4 separate regions of the Homo sapiens genome follow, and regions 1, 3 and 4 are each linked to region 2. The links are contacts of gene promoters, found by promoter capture Hi-C in blood cells and fetal thymus (Javierre and others, 2016). All regions are on one chromosome and are shown on one strand. Each heading gives the region's core, a stretch centred on a gene start or on the middle of the fragment in contact. The rest is flanking DNA. Distances are from core to core; before and after follow the strand shown. Region 1 has its middle 2.2 kb from the start of TNIP1. Region 2 holds the start of RPS14 (ribosomal protein S14). Region 3 holds the start of CCDC69 (coiled-coil domain containing 69). Region 4 overlaps TNIP1 (TNFAIP3 interacting protein 1).

Region 1 (3,210 bases), core at 218-2,717, 630 kb before region 2:
CACTGGAGGGTCTTACACTCCTGAGATTGCCTCAGGTTATGGATCTAAGGAAGGGACCCAGGGCTGCTCTTTTCCTAGTTCATTAGCTGCTCCCGAGTTCCATTCTCCCCTAGCCAAGGCCCTGATTCACTCATTCTCCTAATGCAATGAGGAATGTTCTTGTTTGATTTAGATGCTCCATTTCCTATCAGTGGGGTATGTGGAAACAGCACTGTGCTGGGAGAAGGATACTTGGGTTCTGTCCTATGTATGAATCACAAACTCAACGTAAGACCTCCCGCAAGTCCCTGCCGCTCTCTGGCCCTTGGTGTGGCTCCAGCCCTACAATGAAAAGACTGGGTTGATCATTTCTTTCTTTCTTTTTTTTTTTTTTTGAGACGAAGTCTTGCTCTTGTCCCCAGGCTGGAGTGCAATGGCGCGATCTTGGCTCATTGCAACCTCCACCTCCTGGGTTCAAGTGATTCTCCTGCCTCAGCCTCCTGAGTAGCTGGGATTACAGGCGCCCACCACCACACCTGGCTAATATTTGTATTTTTAGTAGAGACGGGGTTTCACCATGTTGGCCAGGCTGGTCTTGAACTCCTGACCTCAGGTGATCCACCCGCCTCAGCCTCCCAGAGTGTTGGGATTACAGGCGTGAGCCACGGCATGCCCTGCCTGGGTTGATCATTTCTAAAGACCCTTCAAGCCTGGCACTCTGAGTTCTATGTCTTGCTAGCTGGCAAGACTTTGGAGCATGATGCTTAAGAGTGTTAAGCGTTTAAGAGCCTGGATCTTCAAGCTCCGGTTACTTGCTGTGCTGTAAGACCTTGGGCAAGTCATCTAATACCTCAAAGCTTCAGTTTCATCTGTGAAATGTGGATGATAATGGTGCCGACCTCATAAGCTGGTTGGGAGGCAAATTATGAATAAAAGCGCGGAGATAGCACACAGCAAATACTCCATACATGTTACCTTTTAATGCTTTTATTATGCAGCCTCCACCCCTCTTCTGGAACTTGCTCTAGAGTTAAGTTGGTTATAGATGGATTTTTCATATGTTTTTTATTACCTTCAAATGTGTATTTGGGTCTGACTCTGTAGCTACCTCAGTAGGGGTGGTGGAGGAGGGAGTAGCAGAAAGGAGATCGAGAAGTTGCGTGCTTTAAAACAAAACCAAATAAAACAAAACAAAACAAAGGCAGTTTGATTCTCCTTCTGGGTGTGGCTTTGTGCGAGTGCTTGTCATTACTCTGGAAGAACAAGAGGTTGCACCTGCCTGAGTCACTCAGCTCCCAGCGTCAGGCCCAGCTTCTTGACTTGGAAATCCCCTTCCAGACCACAGGGTAGCAGGCAGTGCCAGGCTAGGGGGCCTGTCTCCCATTCCTGCCATGCTCCTAGAGGCTAGGGTCTCACAGAGGATGTGTATGGTGGGATGGCGCCTGGTGAGGTTGCATTGCTGAGTTTAAGAGCCAAGTTCTACCCAATGCATGCAGCCCACATCTAGACACCACTATCATTTCTTGAATGCCTACTGTGTGCTGAGCCTTGGGCTTTATTTGCATTGTCCAATTTATCCTCATGATTCACATGAGGAATAGGTATATTATCCCCCATTTTCCAGACAGAAGCCTGAGGCTTAGAGGGGCCACCCAGGTAGTAAGTGGCTGAGCAGGGATTGGAATCCCATTAGCTCAATTCATAGCCTGTGTTTATGACAGTGGTGTTTTCTGCAAGGCAGTGAGAAAAATCATGTCATTGTAAAGACAACTTGGTACAGTGGACCAAGCACACAGGACTGGGAGCCAAGGCCCTGGATTCCAAGGCCCTGGTTGTGTCACTCAATGTGTGTGGCCTAGAGTAAGTCCTTTTCTAGACAGAGGACTCAGTTTACCTATCTGTCAAATAGGGGTTTGTTATCTATGGGCTCCATGGTCTCTAACAGGGTGGAATGTCCTGAAGACAAACCAAGACTTCAAAGAATGGAAGAGGTGGGGGCAGTCACGACTTTATAAATAAATGAGTTTTCTCACAAATTGGAACTGTTAAGAAAAAGGATCCAGAACTAGGAAATCAGACAAAAAGATGACTGAGTGCCATTTTTTTATGTCAAGCTTGAGAATTCCCAGCGGACACTTTGAGAAATGAAACTGTCTGCCCGGCTAAGGCCAGACATGCTATAAAAACAGCTGAAATAGTGTGGAAACAAAATGCAAGTAATTAGAGACCAGCCATTTTTAGGTAGATTTTAGTTTTCAGTGGGTAGAGGGTGGGGGTGGAGAAGATGTGGGTTGGGAATAGGAAGAGAGCCCTGCAGGAAGAGAATTGGGAAGTACAGGCACAAAGAGCAGGAAGAAAACTGGCAGGTGCGGACCTGATGGGTGGAGACGATGCCTGGGAGCTGCTATGTAAACCAGGGCCAGGATTCCCAGTTTCTCTGTAGGATCCCCCAGTGGTGAGACTCAGTGGTGCTTTGGAGTTTGCATCGCTTCCTCCCTCCCTCCCTTCTGAATCAAGGCATAAGTGTAATTCTTTTCATAATTAAACTAGAATGAATATCGTTTTGAAGATCTGATAACACCGTTGAATTAACTGAAGGAACCCTAGGAGGTTACAAAGCCTTATAGGAGAATCCCCAGATTAGGTATATAATTTGGGCAAGTATCTGTGTGTGTATTATTGCGAAGTCACAGTTGATTGATGGGTCTCTCTTCTGTAAAATGAGGGTGTGTATTAAACAGTTCCCCAAATCCTTTCCCCTAATTCTTTTTGAGGATGAGGGCCTGTCAATGACTAAGTTTTCAACAGTACCAGTGAAATGGGTCTTTTGCAATAGGTTTTTCATAAAGCTATATTTAGTTTAAAGAGCTGTTCTTTATTCCAAGGTTAGACCTTCCACTTTTTGGAATTAAAATTTAGCTTTCTTTCTTTTTAAAAATAAAAGGATAAGCTTTTAAAAAGCTTTCCTACCCTTAAAGCAAGTTTATGTTCCTTACCGGTCTAGGAAATCCCAGTCTGTTGGGATTATCTAGCCCACATATAAGTAGGTAGGGTGGAAGGCGGCCTCTGGATTTGCCCACCCGGGTTTGAATCTTGATTCAGCCCCTTACTGAGGTCATCTAACCTTTTTGTGACTCAAATATTATTTAAGAAAAGGTAGTAAAACCCACCTCCCTAGCGTGATTGTGCGAAGAAAATAATGCACGCAAAGCATCTACAATGTCTGGAGCA
Region 2 (3,199 bases), core at 88-2,587:
TATGTTGAGTTTTTCAGTTTAGCAGAATAAATTTTTTTTTTTTTTGAGACAGGGTCTCGCTGTGTCACCCAGGCTGGAGCCACGGGATATATTTATATATTTAAAATATATTTATAATATTTATATAGTATGTAATACAAAAATACTATATATATTCCATATAAATATTACATATAGTACATAGATAAAATGTATCTACCGCTTGCCTAGCTCTGTGAGGTACACTTCTTGGCCCTTCCCCACAGCTCCGACATATTCTCCCAAGCCTTCAAGGTCCTTCAATATTGTTATTAGAGGCTGGGCACGGTGGCTCACGCCTGTAATCCCAGCACTTTGGGAGGCCGAGGCAGGTGGATCACGAGGTCAGAAAATCCAGACCACCCTAGTCAACACGGTAAAACCCCGTCTCTACTAATACACACACACAAAAAATTTGTCGGGCGTGGTGGCACGCGCCTGTAGTCCCAGCTACTTGGGAGGCTGAGGCAGAATAGCTTGAACCTGGGAGGCAGAGGTTGCGGTCAGCCGAGATTGCGCCACTGCACTCCAGCCTTGGCTACAGAACAAGATTCGGTCGAAATATATACATGTATATTGTTATTAGAGGGCTATGTGGAAGTAGCTATTAAACACGAGGGCTTTGAAGCTAGAATTCCAAACCCTTCTGCAAAGGTGTGCTCTCAGTTAACATCCTTTATCTGTAAGAGGGAAATCAAAATTATTTGATAATGTCTTGAGGAGTAAATGAAGCAATGCATATAAACTGTTTAGCCCAGACCGGTCTGAAAATACATATTGAATAATTTATTCTTATTTTGCCCATTATATAATATGCCAAAGTAAGTGATTACGGTGTGTTTTCCCCGACTATGTTGCCTAGGCTGGCCTCGAACTACTTGGACGAAGCGATCCTCAGCCTCCTGAGTAACTGGGACCACAGGCCGGCGCCACCCTAGCTTTAATTAAGGCCGTTTTGTTGTTGTTATTCCCCTGCTCCACACAAGGGGCGCTGCCGCTCCAAGGCTGCCAGGGCGGGAGTCAGGATGGCGGAAGTCTGTCTAGCCACGACCACCGCCATCATGGAATACAGGCCCACCTCACCCCGCGGGTGTAGCCGCTTCGTACTGTCGCTTAGGCCGACCCGCTCGCAGCGACAACCAGCCCTCTACCTCTTTTCGCTCTCCCTTAAGTAATAAACCGTCTTTCCTTATGACGAGTCTTAAACTCTTTGGGAGGAATAATGCCGGCGTCTTCCGGAACCCGACCTCGCCCCGTGACCTCAGAGGTATACTTCCGGGACACGGAAGTGACCCCCGTCGCTCCGCCCCCTCCCACTCTCTCTTTCCGGTGTGGAGTCTGGAGACGACGTGCAGGTAGGAGGCCCGGGCGCGACAATCGGGGGGCATCCTGCGGCGAGGGGACCCTGTGGGGCTTGGGACGAGAGACGGGGGTCTTTCCGTGGGAACCGAGCTAGGTGCCGGGCAAGAGACGCGCGGCTGGCCCACCTGGATCCTGGCCAACTCGGGATTGAGTTCGTTCCTGGTCTCAGAAGGCCCGTTTTGCTTTCAGGGAGGAGCTTGTGAAGTAAGGGTGAGTGCGGGTCCAGCCTTTTAAGGCCTCGGCCCCGCAATACGGCCACGGCCACGGCCGCGTTTGAGCTGCACAGCGTAGTTGAGGGAACCCGGGACAGACGTGGGCTCCCGCCTCTACCTCGCCAAACTTTTTTCTTGGTGATCGCAGGCCCACGCCTAATCTCGTTTGTTTCCTCGTTTGCAAAATAGGAATAACAATAGCACCGATCCCATGGGTTTGTAGTGATCATTCAAAGAAGGAAAGCAGGGAAAACTCTCGCACTATGTTGGATGCTTCTAAATCTGGGCGATTCTTTCCGTTGCTGAGTCGGGCACGTTGCAAGTTCTGGGCGCTCAGGGCCCAGCACCAATGTTTGCTGTGCGCTTGCCCTGCGTTTATATACTCCTGATGACCACTCTGCTCGTTACTTTAGGGGATGTTAGGAACGGAGAAACTGCAAATTGGCATTTACTGAATGGCCATCATGCCGAAACATACTCATGCTTACGTATTTGAGATATGCTGGAGCCTTTCTATGCTTCTCGAGGCAGAACTTTGGGCTTCTCTCCTGTGGCGCGTTCCTTACAATAGTTAACGCACTGGGTCGTGCTCATTGGTCTGATTTGAAGATAGGAACATTTAACTTCGTACACCCAAGACTTACACTTGAAGTACTTACTGTGGTCACACACTTAACTAAAGTTTATATAGGGAAGGCAGAGGAGAGATCTAGGAACACCTGAGACAGACTAGGGTAGTTATTTGTGGTGTAGAGGCATCTTGGCAGGAGGCAGAGAGTGCTGGGCTGGGAGTCAGGACACGTTGTTTCTATGTTTGGTTTTGCCACTGTCTTTACTGTGACCATAGGCTGAGACACTCTCTATCTTCACCATCTGCAGGATATCGATTAGTGTTAGTGTCTTCTGAAAATGTTAAATTGTTCTGAACACCAGGAGGTTCAGAAGGCCTGGGGCTTTAGGCCGGAAGCAGTCTTATCCTAGCCTTCCACTTTCTCATTCATTCTCACCCGCCTTCCTCCTGTCAGTTTCTCTCTCCCTTAGATCTTGTGACAGTATGATTGCAATTATTATGAAGGTCATAATAGGTTAGAGTTATTTAGTCTCAGGACCCATCAGATTTCTGAGATGGGTCTTTTCCATTAGCCTGCCTTTTGGATATATTTTAGTGCCTTTGATATTTGATGTTGGTGACAAAGATTTAGTTCTAAATAGTTGTGGGAGTCAAATCAGTTGCATTTTTGAACATTTTGAAGGGATCAGGTGGAGCACAGGAAAACAGGAGATGAGAGGCTTGAGGGCTGTGTTGGTAAGGGTCCCTTGAATTCTAAGCTGAGGAGTTCATGCAGGAATCAAGCAGCTCCCTCGCCCCATGAAGGGTGTTAGGAATGGTACCAGTACATGGGTAGCTGTTGGTCTTGGGTTTCTTCTTGCCTTTTGGGGTGCAGCCTTCAGGCATCTGCTGCTAGATCCCTAGGCTTCTATCTTGTAGGTGCTGTGAGCTGAGCTGTTGGTAGTTTCTGGGGAAAGGATACTTCTCATGGTACTTTGCCATGTGGCCACAGTTGATACCCCCCCAAGTGCAAGGAGAAAGAAGTTTTAGTGAGGCA
Region 3 (3,124 bases), core at 607-3,106, 770 kb before region 2:
TATTTAACCAACCTTCTTTTCTTGGCTGTTTAGGTTGTTTTGGGTTCTTTGTTTTTAATCATGAGCACTGTTCCAATAAACATTGTTAATTTTAGTATAATTTAAGTATATCCTGTTTCTTCAGTACCTGTGGAGCACGTCCTATGGCAGGGGTTCTCAAACTTTAGCCCAGGCCAGACATGAGTGGAGTGCTTATGAAGCCATAGATTCCTAAGCCCCATCCCCAGAGTTTAGGCCAGGGGTGGGGCCCGAGAATTTGCATTTCCAACAAAGGCGGCTGGTAGTGCTGACACTGCTGATTTGGGAATCACACTTTGTGAGCCACCATTCTCTATTATACTTGCTTTTGAGAACCTAATAACACGTTTCCTTAGTTTCCTTTCTTACACACTTTTGCAATTGGTTTTGTACCCTATGGAGGGAGCAATTTTTTTGAGGTCTCATATTCTTTCCCCATTCATGACTCTAAGCCGTTTTCACAGCACACCTTTCCAAGAGTTTTGGGCCTGACTTTAATATTCCAATATACACGCAAATAGGCATACACACTGATTTTCAAAATTGGTTATCTTTTTCCTGCATTGCCATTTCAGAAACCTCAGCTAATAACAAAGAGAAGATAAACAAAAGCTCCTTTTCCTAGACACTGACATTTTATGTCCCATAGTCACCATACCTGGCCTGCCTCAAGAGGTTGTTGTGATGAATAACATCTATCCAAGATGGATAGAGTCAAATATTACAGATGCTTGTGAGGTGGAAAAAACTATCAGCCCAGAAGTGAGGAGGCATTAAAATTAAACTTAGTATTATTGGCCAGGTGTGGGATCCCAGGACTTTGGGAGGCCGAAGCGGGCGGATTACCTGAGGTTGGGAGTTTGAGATCAGCCTGGTCAAAATGGTGAAACTCTGTCTCTACTAAAAATACAAAAATTAGTTGGGTGTCGTGGTGCATGCCTGTAATCCCAGCTACTGGGGAGGCTGAGGCAGGAGAATCACTTGAACCTGGGAGGCAGAGGTTGCAGTGAGCCAAGATCGTGCCACTGCACTCTAGCCTGGGCAATAGAGCGAGACTCTGTCTCAAAAATAAATAAATACAATAAACTTAGTATTATGATTTATTTGTAGGCCATTGAGTCAAAGTTTAGGTTCTGGAGTTAGAACTGTATTCTGTGCAGTGGCTCATGCCTGTAATCCCAACGCTTTGGGAGGCCAGGGTGGGAGGATCGCTTGAGGGCGGTCGTTCAAAATCAGACTGGAAAAAAGAAAAGAATTTGGTTGGGTATGGTGGTGAGCCTCTGTAGTCCCAGCTACTCAGGAGGCTGAGCTGGGAGGCTCGCTTGAGCCCAGGAGTTTGAGGCTGCAGTGAACTATGATAGCGGCAAAAAAAAAAAAAAAAAAGGAACTGGATTCTATCTGGGCTGTGGTAACTTACTAGCCATGTGACCTTAGGCAAATCATGTTGCATCTCTGAACACCATTTTCCTCACCTGTAAAATGGAGGAAGTAATACCTTTGTTGCACTGATATGGCAAGAAATAGAAATAAAATGTATAAAACAACTGGGACAAAAACAGCCCTCAATGAATGATAGTTGTTAGTTTATCAAATAATTGCTTTAATTATTTTTTCCCCCGGCCCTTTCTTAGCTGAGGGTTCGGAAAAGCATCTGTTGCTCCTTGAGGTTTTCTTTTCTTCTGCCCTGACCAGAGCTTCCTATTATTTAGAAGGATTCTGGTCACCTGCCTCTGGTGGCGGCGCCGCTGGCCCTGCGGGCTACACTGAGGCCCCGCTCTTCGGGTATTTACGGCGGGCGGCCGCCCCAGCTCAGGCTCAAGACAGCGCTTCCAGGTTCAGTTTCAGGGTCTCGCCGGCAGCCCCAGCCGGCGGGCGCGGAGCGGGCAGCGGGGCCCGGATCGCAGGCTCCTCTGGGGGCCCCGGAGTTGGGAAGCGGCGTCCGGGAGCCCCCGGAGGAGGATGGGCTGCAGACACAGCAGGCTGAGCAGCTGCAAACCCCCGAAAAAGGTAAAGGGCGCCGGCGGAGAAGTTTGCTTTCAGAGGAGAGGGGAGTGCGGAATCGCTCCGCCGCAGAGGACTCGGCGCCCCGGGCTCTCTCTGGTCGGCCCGGGATACCGGACGGAGAACCTGGAGAGGCCAGCTCAGAGACGAGGGAGGCTCTGCTGGGAGGCGCCCTTTACCCCGGCCCGAGCCGCACCAAGCAGCCGAGTTTACAAACACGGCACCCGGGCCAGGGAAAGGCAGCTGATTCCCGCTGCCTCGGGTGGGGAGATGTCGTGTGTCTGTGGCAGGTGCCCTCTGCTTTCGGTCTGGGGCTGTTCGCTGTGTGGCCATGGACAAGTGACTTGACCTCTCTGGGCCTTCGGCTTCCTCCCCCCGGGGGTTAAAGGCTGATAATCTCAGGGCTGCTCGAAGAGTGTTCCACAGACTCGCAGTATCAGCATCCCTGGGGACCTGTCAGAAATGCAGAATCTCAGGCTCAGGCCCAGTCTTGCCAAGACAGAAGCTGCCTTTTAACAATATGCCCAGGTGATGACGCTTTAAAGTTTGAGGCGCTGGTCTTAGGGCTCTTGCAGGCCCCAGAGCTGGTGAGTGTGGGCTGCCCTTGGGGTAGCTGGGAGGGGCCAAAGAGGGAGGAGATCTACTGCGTTCTGTGGCCCTCTCCTCCCTTCCTGTCCTTCCCCCAAGGGGCCTTGGAGCTGGGTCAGGGCCCAGGGGACAATTCTCAGGTTTCTTGCAGTGAGACCAGCTGCCCCTTGGGGTCTGACGAGCCCAGAAGGTCAGAGCCTGGAGCTAGAAAGATAGCCTCCTCAGGGGACACTGTGAGGCAGAGGGGAAGAAGGACCCTCAAATTCTGGCCCCTTTTCTTACCACTACCTGCCCCCTAGCCAGGTGGGACTAGGTGATCCCTTAAACTTTATCATCATTCCCCCTTGAGACCTTGAGAGGCCCCAAACTGTGACAGTGTTTAATAGTTTTGCAATGAACTTTAGTCCTCCCTCTGCTCCTGCTTTGCTTGTGCCCTGAGTACAGGTTTTTCTGCCTAACAGTAGTCCTAGCCTGGAGGATTCTACTCCCTTCTCTGACACCTCCTGGCTTTCCTTGC
Region 4 (3,185 bases), core at 482-2,981, 610 kb before region 2:
AGAGAAGTGGGAGGTCAGTGCAGCAGAGCACTGGATGGCGAGTCAGGAAACCTCAGTTCTCGTTATACCTCTGCCACTGACTTACAGGGCAACTTTGGGCAAGTTCCTCCTCCCCATAGCTTGGTTTCCCGGCCTGATCTCTGAGGCTCCCTGTAGCTCTGCTGTCCTGTGATTCCCATAACTGTTTCCGGGAGGCTGCTGGAGGAGCTGAGCCGTGGACAGGGTGGGAAGGATGAGCAGAACTTGCAGAGGCAGAGAGGACACAGAGAGGACACATGCAGAGACACCAGACCTGGTGTGTGTGGGTTCAGGCAGGGTAAAGTGGGGAGCCCAACTGGATGCTGCTGTGGATGGGACCTGCGGCTGTAGGGCCTTAGATGCCCAGCAGGGGAGCTGGGCCCAGTGCCGTCTGCAGTAGGGTAACACTGCAGGTCCTTGGGAGTGGAATTGGTGTAACAAAGGCAATGTCTTTGGTAGGAGTATTCCAGATAGACTAGAGAGAAAGAGTCAACTATCTGGCCCACGGTGTGCTTTATTTCTTACATACTGTACTAGTTTGGGACTTTCTGAAATAGCTAAAGCTGTGGTTCCTTAAACTGTTTTGAGTCTTGGGTCCTCAGAAGCTGATGAATGCTTGGGCCATTCCCCAGAAGACACATGTGTAGGCCAGGCATGGTGGCTTACGCCTGTAATCTCAGTACTTTGGGAGGCCGAGGTGGGTGGATCACCTGAGGTCAGGAGTTCAAGACCAGCCTGGCCATTGTGGTGAAACCCCGTCTCAACTAAAAATACAAAAATTAGCTTGGTGTAGTGGTGCACACCTGTAATCCCAGCTCCTCAGGAGCCTGAGGCAGGAGAATCGCTTGAACCCAGGAGGCGGAGGTTGCAGGACGTATATGCAGATGTCCCTTGGTAAACATGGGAGAGTGGTTCCAGAACTCCCTGAGGATACCCAAAATCCATGGATGCTCAAGTCCCTGATGTAAAATGGCGTAGTAGTTCCCTATAACCTATACACATCCTCCTATATACTTTAAATCATCTCTAGATTACTTACGATACCTAATACAATGTAAATGCTAAATTTTGGTATACTGTATTGTTTAGGGAATAATGACAAGAAAAAAATTCTGTACATGTTCAATACAGTTTTTTGTTTGTTTGTTTTGGGACGGAATCTTGCTCTGTTGCCCAGGCTGGAGTGCTGTGGTGCGATCTCTGCTCACTGCAACCTCCGACTCCCTGGTTCAAATAGTTCTCCTGCCTCAGCCTCCCAAGTAGCTGGGATTACAGGCACGTGCCACCATGCCCAGCTAATTTTTGTATTTTTAGTAGAGACAGGGTTTCACCACTCAGGCCGTCTTGATCTCCTGACCTTGTGATCTGCCCGCTCAGCCTCCCAAAGTGGTGGGATTACAGGCGTGAGCCATCGCGCCCGGCCAGTTTGTTTTTTTAGAAGATTTTTGATCTGCAGTTGGTTGAATCCATGGATGCGGAACCCATGGATATGGAGGGCTGACTGTGCAGTGATGTCCCTTTTCTGGGCTTGTTACTGTCAGGGGTCAATTCATCCTCCTAAGAACCCTGTGAGGTTGAAGGGAGGGAAGGGTTGTGCGGACATTTGGTAGATGAGGATGCTGAGGTCCAGCAGACAAGTGACTTACTGTCAGGCACTCTGCAAGGCCCAGTGTGTGGGAGGATGGTGGCCCCGCTGCTGTGGAGCCACCAGTGGCCTGTGAGTCCTGGGTTCTGCCCTGTGAGTCAGCCCCAGACAGGGAACCTGCATAACTGGAGAATTTCCCGGGGCTGAGCTGGGGTCACAGGGGGAAACTGAGTCATGAGAAATGAGGAAGCAGAGGGAGAATGGACTGGCGGCGCCTACTCAGGCCTTGGTGAAGAGTGGGCCGTGTGCCCTTTCCCTCTCCAGGCGCTGGGCCCCCTGCCCCGTGAGGACGGCAACCTGATGCTGCACCTGCAGCGCCTGGAGACCACGCTGAGTGTGTGTGCCGAGGAGCCGGACCACGGCCAGCTCTTCACCCACCTGGGCCGCATGGCCCTGGAGTTCAACCGACTGGCATCCAAGGTGCACAAGAATGAGCAGCGCACCTCCATTCTGCAGGTGAGGCGCGTGGGGAGGGCAGCCCGAGACAGGCAGGCGTGCTTCCCCCCGAGCTCTTCCCACCTTCCTGCTCCTGGGAATCCACTGGTACCATGGGGACTTCTGAAGGCTGTGTTGTGGGCAGACTTCGGGCTTTTTGTTCAGGGTGATGAACAGGATAAGGAAGTTGTGGGGAGGGATGAGGAAGAGGAAGGAAATGGGGAAATACGGGATGGGCAATGCGAGTGTCATGGTTGGGGATACCCCCAGCAGCCCTGCCTTTATTTCTCATGTGCAGGGTTGGGGGATGGGAAGGGAGGGAACAAAGGTCAACTCCTTTCATAATGCCTCTTTCCCCCCAGGGTAGGCACCCTCATTATCACCACTTCACAGGTGGGGAAGCAGCCCTTTTTTTGCCCAAGGTCACCCAGCTGGTAAATGGTGAAGTAGGGATTGGAACCTCGATCTCTCGCATTCCAAAGCCCATACTCTTGACCACCATCCCAACCTGCCTCCCCTATTGAATTCCTTTTGAAAGCCTCCCTGTGCTGTGGGGAATGGACAGATTTCCTTGCTAGGCCAGGCCAGACCTTGGAGTTATATGGTCCTTGGTTCCAGTAGTGACCCTTTATTGCTGTATGACCTTGGACAAGTCACTTATCCTCTCTATCCCCCAATGTTCCTATCAGTAACATGAGCTAGAAGTGCCTCCATGGTTAGATTGCTGCATTAAATGAGGCCATGTACATGAAGCACCCAGTGCAGTCCAGAACCTAGTCCATGCTGGAAGAGAGGTCCCCATTCGGAGTTCATGACGGGCATCCACACTGGGCAGGGGGTCTTAGCCTTGTGGGCTTTAGCAGCGGGGAAGTGTTCAGTTATAATTGGTGACCATTCTAAAGATGGCAAAACGGAGGCTTCTGAGGGACTGCTCGTGATCTGAGTGCCCGCCACCTTAGTGACAGAGCCATGACTTGAAGCCTCCTTACTCCCTGCAGACTCTCCTCCCAGGCCATTCTCTGATCTGTGGTCTCATTCATGTCAGCAGGCACTCAAGTGCCCCGCTGATGGCAGAAGGGGGAGTCCC

What was found. Contacts are between HindIII fragments. The CHiCAGO score rates a contact against its expected background, and 5 or more counts as called.
Region 1: a fragment that was not itself captured here is called in contact with the fragment with the promoter of RPS14 in region 2 in 3 of 17 cell types (activated CD4 T cells, naive CD8 T cells and fetal thymus); the score reaches 6.2 in activated CD4 T cells.
Region 3: the fragment with the promoter of CCDC69 here is called in contact with the fragment with the promoter of RPS14 in region 2 in 10 of 17 cell types (fetal thymus, total CD4 T cells, neutrophils and 7 more); the score reaches 11.3 in fetal thymus.
Region 4: a fragment that was not itself captured here is called in contact with the fragment with the promoter of RPS14 in region 2 in 1 of 17 cell types (naive CD8 T cells); the score reaches 5.2 in naive CD8 T cells.

The regions. Positions count from the first base shown.
Region 1 is chr5:151,081,609-151,084,818 of GRCh38, reverse strand. It overlaps a transcript of TNIP1 not described here. Among named protein-coding and RNA genes, the nearest start is that of TNIP1, 2.2 kb to the right of the region's middle. RefSeq lists enhancers at 1,039-1,148, 1,269-1,378, 3,191-3,210, 2,965-3,210. The HindIII fragment of the contact is 1,257 bases long and covers 839-2,095 here.
Region 2 is chr5:150,447,877-150,451,075 of GRCh38, reverse strand. It overlaps RPS14 (ribosomal protein S14), which reads left to right and starts at 1,337. Exons shown (of 5, transcript NM_005617.4): 1 at 1,337-1,373. RefSeq lists enhancers at 949-1,268, 882-1,820. The HindIII fragment of the contact is 9,558 bases long and covers 1-3,199 here.
Region 3 is chr5:151,222,824-151,225,947 of GRCh38, reverse strand. It overlaps CCDC69 (coiled-coil domain containing 69), which reads left to right and starts at 1,856. Exons shown (of 9, transcript NM_015621.3): 1 at 1,856-2,025. The coding sequence starts at 1,978. LOC105378230 (a long non-coding RNA gene) reads right to left here. Exons shown (of 4, transcript NR_160730.1): 4 at 1,598-2,472. RefSeq lists silencers at 126-420, 1,904-1,983 and enhancers at 2,104-2,303, 2,324-2,433. The HindIII fragment of the contact is 18,522 bases long and covers 1-3,124 here.
Region 4 is chr5:151,055,700-151,058,884 of GRCh38, reverse strand. It overlaps TNIP1 (TNFAIP3 interacting protein 1), which reads left to right. Exons shown (of 18, transcript NM_006058.5): 6 at 1,928-2,119. Among named protein-coding and RNA genes, the nearest start is that of TNIP1, 24 kb to the left of the region's middle. RefSeq lists an enhancer at 2,054-2,580. The HindIII fragment of the contact is 3,905 bases long and covers 1-3,185 here.